Regions from separate parts of the Homo sapiens genome. Here region 2 is linked to region 1. The links are contacts of gene promoters, found by promoter capture Hi-C in blood cells and fetal thymus (Javierre and others, 2016). All regions are on one chromosome and are shown on one strand. Each heading gives the region's core, a stretch centred on a gene start or on the middle of the fragment in contact. The rest is flanking DNA. Distances are from core to core; before and after follow the strand shown. Region 1 holds the start of CASTOR1 (cytosolic arginine sensor for mTORC1 subunit 1). Region 2 overlaps CCDC157 (coiled-coil domain containing 157).

Evidence for each region. The method cuts DNA at HindIII sites, captures the fragments that hold promoters and counts their contacts. A CHiCAGO score of 5 or more calls a contact.
Region 2: a contact is called between a fragment that was not itself captured here and the fragment with the promoter of CASTOR1 in region 1, in 16 of 17 cell types (naive CD4 T cells, naive CD8 T cells, total CD8 T cells and 13 more). The highest score is 20.4, in naive CD4 T cells.

Annotation. Positions count from the first base shown.
Region 1 is chr22:30,286,067-30,290,880 of GRCh38, forward strand. It overlaps CASTOR1 (cytosolic arginine sensor for mTORC1 subunit 1), which reads right to left and starts at 3,439. Exons shown (of 9, transcript NM_001037666.3): 1 at 3,319-3,439; 2 at 2,640-2,710; 3 at 1,307-1,494; 4 at 1,089-1,221; 5 at 759-882; 6 at 197-310; 7 at 1-32. The coding sequence starts at 3,431. RefSeq lists silencers at 3,097-3,176, 3,377-3,816 and an enhancer at 4,697-4,756. The HindIII fragment of the contact is 5,917 bases long and covers 1,854-4,814 here.
Region 2 is chr22:30,358,004-30,361,627 of GRCh38, forward strand. The region is part of intron 1 of CCDC157 (coiled-coil domain containing 157); the gene reads left to right. Among named protein-coding and RNA genes, the nearest start is that of CCDC157, 2.8 kb to the left of the region's middle. RefSeq lists an enhancer at 1-372. The HindIII fragment of the contact is 298 bases long and covers 1,109-1,406 here.

The DNA.
Region 1 (4,814 bases), core at 2,189-4,688:
AGGAGCTGGTCAGCAGGAGGTCACTGGGGAACCTGGGGAGGGAGATGGGTGATGGGCAGGGCACCCCCATCCACCCCTGCCTGACCGTGAGCTCTGGGACAGGTACACCTGCTGACCTCAGAGTCTGATGCCCCACCTCCTCCCTGCCTGGGACTGGCTGGGGCCTGGGGCCCACCCGGGGTCAGGGGTCACCTACTTTTTCTGTGTTTCAGCATCCATGACAATGGAGATATAACCCTCGATGAGGGAGAAGGCAAAGAACGTGATGGAGCTGGGTTCAGGACTGCTAGAGGCTGCCTCCTTGGGGGTGCTGGGGAGGGATGGGAGGTTTAGGGGCTCTACCAGGCACCCAGCCTACTGCCCCTGCTCCCGATCAGCCTCCAGAACCCTGGGAAGGAGCTGGTATGGTGGCCTGGGCAGGCTCTGCCATATCTGCTACCCGCCCAAGGGTCCAGCCCTCTGGAAGGTGTGGGTGGGGATGGGGGAGGACAATGAACCCAGCCTGTGCCAAAAACAAAGGATTCCACGGTGAGAGGGCCAGACCAGGGCATGGCTCAGACGACCCCACTGGAAAGGGATCCAGCTTTGGGGCAAGAACCTTCCCCGAACATCAGTGAAGCACAAGTGAGCATCATGGGCTGCCAGGAACCCCAAGAGAGGACAAGCAAGAGGTGCAAAACTGATAGATGGGCGGAAAGTGGTGGGACAGAGTGTAGGGAACAGTGCTGTGAGGACAAAGACGAAGTTCCAAGGTCCACCTGTGCGAGTAGAAGAGGACATCTATGAGGGTGGTGGCGATGGCTGGAAGCGTCTCAGGGTCCAGTGTGAGGACACAGAAGCGGTTCTGTGGGCTCTGGATGGGATGCACCGTGGGGCTGGGCCCTGCTGGAGGACAGCAGCAGGTGAAAAGGTGTCCGTGGGCTGGGGCGCCCCCTGGTGGCTAGTCAGGGAGAGGCGTGGGCCAGGGGCAGGTCTTGCTATCCAGGAACTGGCCGGGGTCCTCCTGCCCCACTGGGGCCCAAAAGGGAAGGGACCCAGTGGGAAGAGGAGGCCCTGCCCAAGTCCAAGTGTCAGGGGGCGGCCCTCACCATGCTGAGTGCGGGGAAAGCCATTGCTGGAATCATCCCTCGTCACAGGCACAGGCTCTCCGCCCACCTCGCGGTAAATGTCGAACTCCTGGGCCAGCGTGTGGATCACCACGGACAGGTCCTGCTCCCGCACCTGGGCCACAGCAGATGGCACATCACATGGGCTCCCAGGTACCTATATCCACCCTGCTCTGCATCAGCACCAGCAGGAAACTCACCAGGATGAAGTCCGTCTGGTAAGTGGACAGCATCAGCACAGACACGTGGTGCTCGGCCAGTGGCGCGATGACCGAACGGGCGATCTTGGTGACCCCAGCAGCCTGCACTGCCGCACCGCTGTGAGACGACACGTTCAGCACCAGCCATGTGGCCTCAGCTACTTGCAGGAACTCAGATGGGGGCAGCTCTGTGGGCAGGGGACATGTCAGGTCAGGGTCTACAAGGCTGGCCCCTGCCCCTCTCTGAGCCTCAGTTTCCCTTTCTGTGCCTTGGAGGGCTCCATCAAGGTAAGGGCAGGTCTGGAGGCTGGGGCTCCTGAAGTCCCTATGTGTGCAAAGACTGAGAAAGGCTTCAAGTGCTGGCCTGGTGGCATTGAAACTTCCCACTTAAGATCAGAGGTCCAGATTCAGACAGACCTGGGTTCAAATCCCAGCTTTGTTAATTTGTCTTATGACCTGGGGTGGGTGATTTGAGTCTCAGTTTCCTCATCTGTAAAATGGGACGACAATATCTACCTCACTACGGTGTCTTCTGTGGGTTAGCAGAAGCTTTGTACCACATGGCACCACCAGGGGGCATTCGCAGATCAGGTTGGCTGGGGGATTGCCTTCCCCTTTTGCAGACCCAGACTTCTGAAGTAAAAACAGGGAAACTAAGGCCTGCAGTGGAGCATGGGGACAGGCTAAGCTCCAGCTAGCTGGCCTGAGACTCCAAGCCTGTGAGGATGGGCAGGGCCAGCAGCAGGAGGAGGAGCTAGGCGTCAGCTCCAGGCCCCAGGGAGGGCCCAGGCTGGCGTCCAGTCCTGAGCTGGGGCCAGGGCCTGGGTGGCTGCTATTCACCCCAGCACAGCCAGGAGGCCTCCAGGACCCTCCCCTGAGATGGCTGCCTGCTCCTGCATTCCTTCCCTCAGACTCCTGGAGTTTCCAGACCAGCAGGGGAGGAGGTGACCCAAACCAGAGAGTAAGACCAGGAGGAAATAATACCCAGGGATTTCTAACAGCAGCACTTGACTGGAATCATAACAGAGGCCCTTCTGCAGGCCTAAGACTGCTGAGTGCCCCTCAGCGGTTTTAAGTTTATAAAGGCCTCATGGGACCCTATGTATCAGAACCATAACTATACCCATTTTACATAAGAGAAAACAGCTCAGAGAGGGAAAGTGATTTGCTCAAGGGCACACAGCCAGGGAGTGGTGGAGTAGGATTCGAACCCCGACCCATCTGCTTTTAAGGCTTAAGCTCTTGGGACGGATCCCAGCAACTGGTGAGAACCCTACAGAAGGGGAGCACGACAAGCCCCTCCCGTACTCCCGTTCCCCAGACCAACCCCCACCTTTAAAGCCCTCCTCGTCCACCATAAGCGTGTAATCCTCAGGGGTCTCCGTCAGGCTGAAGAACTTGCACCTGGTTGGGGGTGGGGAGCATCTTCAGCTTGGTGTGGAGAACTAGGGGTCGGGAGTGGATTTCTCTCCATCTGCCCCGAGACACCCCCGCGACCCTGGGCCGGGCGCCTTCTTGCCCTCTCGGCCTTTAATTTCCAGGCCAATGGGATGTTAGCCCCATCTCGGGGGTTGGGGGCTACTTTCCGGCCTCCCGACCTCTCCAGGAACCCTCCACCCCTCCACTCCTGGAGGGAGGAGAGGTTCACACCCGCGGCGACAGCCCCAGGGGCGTCGGACCTTGGACCCCCTAGTCCAGCCCCTCTGACATGAAGGGAGGCGTCCTGGAAGGAGCTCCCCGCAGTGACCAGGTAGGAATGCCCCCATTTGACACTACTGAGTTAAGCATTGCCCATCCCAGGCTGTTTGCGCTTTGCCCCTGGGAGGGGGCCTCACGGGGCCGGATAGGCGGCGGTCCCCCAGGCCGGATGGCGGCCGGACGGGGAGAGTCCTCCCCACCCGCTCCCGCCCGCCTGCCTGCCTGCCTTACGGCGATCCTAATCCTCCGACCCTGGCCCGGAGCGAGAGCAGAGCCCCCAGCCCCTATCTGCGCTCCCGAACCCGGGCGCGCACCGGCTGCGGCGGGGCAGGAAGAGCAGCTTGATGAGCGGGTGGGTGTAGAGCCAGAGACCGGGACGGGCGACGCTCAGCACCCGCACCCGGTGTTCTAGGATGTGCAGCTCCATCGCGGCTCGCGCGGACCCGACCCCGCCGCCAACTAGACCCAGGCCGCACGGGAGGCGGGGCGGCGGGGGTGGTGCCCGAGCCTTAAAGGAGCCGCTGCGCTGCCGCGTCCACGCCGCCCGCTGCGAGGCTGACCCGCCCAGCCAGGCGCGGCGTCCGGCTCCTTGACGGCCACGCCCCGCGGGAAGAGAAGCCTATTGGGTGGTCACGCCTCCTCCTAACGCCAGAACCTCATCCCGCTTTCCAGCCAGCCCACCGAGACCGCCCCGAACGGCTCCGCCTTTTTTAGTACTGGCTCGGGGATAGACCCCACCCCGTCTGACTCCTCCAGGCCCCGCCCCTGACGCGCCCCCTCCCTGGGCTCCGCCCTTTCCGCGGAAAGCCAGCTGCGCAGCCGGTGGGAGCATCCCGGAGGGGACGTTTCTGTCCTTCTGGCACACACGTGGGTTTCATGATTGAAGTCCTTGAGACAGAAGGGACACGAAACAAACTGGAGCTCGGCTAGGACCAGAACGCTGCCCCCAAATCCCCGGAGCAATGAGAGGCACAGGTCTGCTGTGCAGCGCTGTCCCCCGGGCGCCTTTCGCTCTCCTGCCTCTCATGGCTGCAGGGGGCAGGGCCGCCAACACAGGATTGCGATTGATACCTACCCTTCCCCGCTTGCGAGGGGGCTGACAAATTGAAACCTGGCCTGGTAGCCCCACTTGTTCCTTTCATCCAACTTTCAAAATAGAAGGCTCCTCACCAGGGGCACACAGAGGTAGAATCCTAGCCACCTCTGCCTGAGCGACATACTTTGGGTTAGGGGGCTGCAGGTGGCCAAGGCCTAAGGCTTGAGGTCCCTCGATACCAACAAAACCCGGAAGTGCTTGAGCCAGTAATGCCCAGTGCTCAGACTTTGGTGGGGGAGGCCCTTGCAGCTGAGGTTCAGTGAGTACTCAGACCTCAAGCCTGAAACTTGAGCCCCAAAGCCTGCAGCCCTTAGCTAGCCTGTGCACATCTAAACTTGCTTCAGGTTCAAGGAGGCCCCCGGCACTGGCAGACACCCCAGATCTTATCAGGCCTTCACAGGTCTAAGACCCCCCCAAGGCTAAGCAGGCATCAGCATGTCCATGTTGGCTCCATGCAGGGCTGAGAATGCTCCAGGGGACCCTTGCCTGGCCTGAGCACCCTGAGGCCTCAGATGTGAGGCTTTGAACCAAGTAGACTAAAGCAGGCCTCAGGCCTGATTGGGACCCAGCAGGCCTAAGCAGGCCCTCTGCCTGCTCTGGAGCCCCCACCATAGGCAGATGGAAGCCAAGCTAAGCCTCCTCCCTGGACTCTCGGGCTTGACACATTCCTGTGAAACACTATGTAGCCACCACATCCTGGCCTATCCCCTGGAG
Region 2 (3,624 bases), core at 8-2,507, 70 kb after region 1:
CTGCAAGCTATGCGGCTCGCTCCCCAGAGGCCTACCTCGAATCCCGCCGGCTTCTCTCCCTCTCCTGCGATTCCCCCCTCTCTCCTTCCTCCTCTCCTCAACTCTGGAAAGCGGGGAGCTGGCTCCGAACCTGTTCCTGGACTTCAGTTTCCTCACCTGTGAAATGAGGGAGTGATAGGAAAGGTTGCTCTCTCAAGTCTTCCCCCTCCCCCCACACACATCGTAGCTGTGTGTCATGGTTGTTATTAATGTAGAATAATGATAGCTGGGATGTATTGGTCATTTACTATGAGCCGGATACTGTGCCCAACACTTCATGTGTTACGTCATTTATTCCTTATAGCAACCTATTTACAAATGAGGACAGTGAAGTTTGGAGTTGGTAGAGTGGGAATGCAAGTTCAAGCCAGTCTTATTCCTCTACTAGTGCAGTTAGTTATTTTGCCCTCAGTCCCTTCAGTATCCCCAGGGATCCAGGCAATTAACAATCTCATGTTTGAGACTGACATCTGCCACATAGCTGGTTTTAGAGTTTCCCGTGTTTTCATGGTGGTGGCTTTGAATCTCACCAGGCACCCTGGCTGGGAAGTAGGCATCATCTTTACCGAGTAGGGTTAGGGTACTAGTTCTGAGAGAGAGAAGGCGCTTGAATGTTGAACGGAAATGCAGGAAAGGCTCCTGCTCTTCTCTGGGAGTCAAAAGTCCACCTTGAGCCCCAGGAAATTGAGGAGAGGCAGAGATAGCTGCTGCTCCTCCCTAAGGGCTCAATTAGTGCTGTCACCTATGTGGTCATGGGTACAGTGCCGGGCTGGCAGCTTCAGACTGAGGGTTCCACTCAAGACCCAGGAATTGCAGAAAGAGCTCACGTCAAGTGCTTCTTCACTTGACACACACATAAAGTACTTCTTAAACTATGCTTGTATCTGCATGACTTCAATTTTCAGAAGAAACAACATAAGGTCATCTTGGATTTTCCTGACACTTGGGCATTTGCTGCTGCTTATCTGATCCAGGATCTACTGGGAGTTGATATCCAGGATGGCCCCATGTGGCAGCTATAGTTATTTGAAGGTGAACAGATCAGTGTTTCCTGGTGCCTTCACAAGCAAGCTTATGAATTCCAGATGCTTTGCCACCTGAATACACTTTCTCCCAGGTTGGGGGCTTCTTGATTTCTTTATTTCTTTCATGCCCATTCCAGGAAGGAAACCCAGAATACTTCCGTGTGTTATTTTGCCTTTGTTTCTGCCTCCCTCCTTGGAGACATAAAATCTCTTGGGCAGCAGTAGTTCATTGGCAGTTGCCAAGACAACAGGAGTGTAGGATGTGGGCATGTGTGTTGTGAGTATCATGGGGCAGACACGTATCCCTTGGGTGATATCCCATGGGTGAAACTGGCACACACAAGCTTACCCCTTGCGGAGACCCTCAGATATCACTGGTAGTTCCTGGAGGACAGGGCTCCTTGTGCCCTGCTGTGTTCCTGGTCTTGACGTAGTGCCTGGTATGGAACAGATACTCAGTCCTCATTTGCTGAATGCACACACAGCATCCAACCCTCTGCACCGTCCAATACAGTAGCTACCAGCCAACACAGATTTTGAACATTTGAAATGGTTTCTGGTCCAAATGGCCATGTGTTGTCAAACAGGCATTAGATTTTGAGACTTAATACCATAAAAATGTTAAAAATCTCCTTAATAATTTTATATTGATATGTTGAAATGATAATGTTTTGGGTATATTGGGTTAAATAAAATATGCTGTTAAAATTAAAGTTAATTGACCTTTATTTTTACTCTTTTTAATGTGTAGGGGAGAAAAAGTAATATATTTTCCTCACTCATTGCAAGTTTAATAAAAGATTAAGGTGTCTCACGCCTATAATCCCAGCACTTTGAGAGGACAAGACGAAAAGATTGCTTGAGGCCAAGAGGCCAGGACCAGCCTGGGCAACATAGCAAGTCTCTGTCTTTACAAAAAACAAAAAAATTAGCCAGGTGCGGTGGCACCCACCTGTAGTCCTACCTACTCAGGAGGCTGAGGGGGAGGATCACTTGAGCCCAGGAGTTAAAGGTTACAATGAGCTATGACAGCACCACTGCACTGCAGCCTGAGCAACAGAGTGAGACCCTGTCTCTAAAAAATAAATAAATGAAATAAAATTTTAAAAACAGATTAACAAGAGAAAAGCATACAAATTTAATAAAAGTTTACCTGCCGGGCGCGGTGGCTCACGCCTGTAATCCCAGCACTTTGGGAGGCTGAGGCGGGCAGATCACAAGGTCAGGAGATTGAGACCATCCTGGCTAACATGGTGAAACCCCATCTCTACTAAAAAATACAAAAAAATTAGCTGGGTGTTGTGGCGGGCGCCTGTAGTCCCAGCTACTCTGGAGGCTGAGGCAGGAGAATGGCGTGAACCCAGGAGGCAGAGCTTGCAGTGAGCCGAGATCACGCCACTGCCCTCCAGCCTGAGCGACAGAGCGAGACTCCGTCTCAAAAAAAAAAAAAAGTTTTCCCTGACATGGAAACCTTCAGAAATGAAAACCCAAAGAAACAAGGAGATCTGTGTTTTTATGGTCAGTGTGCAGAATTATGATTGGTGGACCCAAAGGTATGATCTGGCGGGGCGCGATAGTTCATGCCTGTAATCCCAGCACTTTGGAAGACCAAGGAGGGTGGATCACCTGAGCTCAGGAGTTGGAGACCAGCCTGACCAATATGGTGAAACCCTGCCTCTACTACTAAATACAAAAATTGGCCGGGCATGGTGGCTCATACCTATAATCCCAGCACTTTGGGAGGCTGAGGTAGGTGGATCATGAGGTCAGGAGTTTGAGACTAGCCTGACCAACATAGTGAAACCCCATCTCTAATAAAAAATACAAAAATTCACTGGGCATGGTGGCACGTGCCTGTAGTCCCACCTACTCAGGAGGCTGAAGCAGGAGAATCACTTGAACCCAGGAAGTGGAGGTTGTAGTGAGCCAAGATCGCACCACTGCACTCCAGGCTGCGCAACAGAGCGAGACTCTCTTTCAAAAAAATAATAAATACAATTAAAAATTTAAAAAATAATAAAAATACAAAAATTAGCTGGGCGTGGTGGTGTGCACCTGTAGTCCCAGCTACTCAGGAGGCTGAGACAGGAGAATTGCTTGAACCCAGGAGGCGGAGGTTGTGGTGAGCTGAGATTGTGCCACTGTACTCCAGCCTGGGTGACAGAGCAAGACTCTGTCTCAAAAAAAAAAAAAAAAAAGAAAAAAGGTATGATCTAGTAGTAATACATGAGGGAGGGCATGGATTTAGTAAGGCCTGTTTGCTCAGATTCTTCTTGGTGTCCCTATGTGACATTGCTTCCCATCTGGGTATAGGGCAGGACACCTGTCACATGAGGGTCTTCAGGGGAGGAGGGGAGAGGTCACAGACTGACCTTCCTGGCGGCCTGCTTCAGAGAAGAAGGATGAGGGGAAGATGAGGGTGGCCTTCCTGCTTCTGCAGTTTTTTGCATTTCTAAGGTGCCATATTTTGGGGTAGCATTTCCTGTACCCCATCTGTGGCTAGTAGAAAAACCTAAAATTGTGTGTGTGGCTTATAGTATATTTCTTTTGGACACTGCTG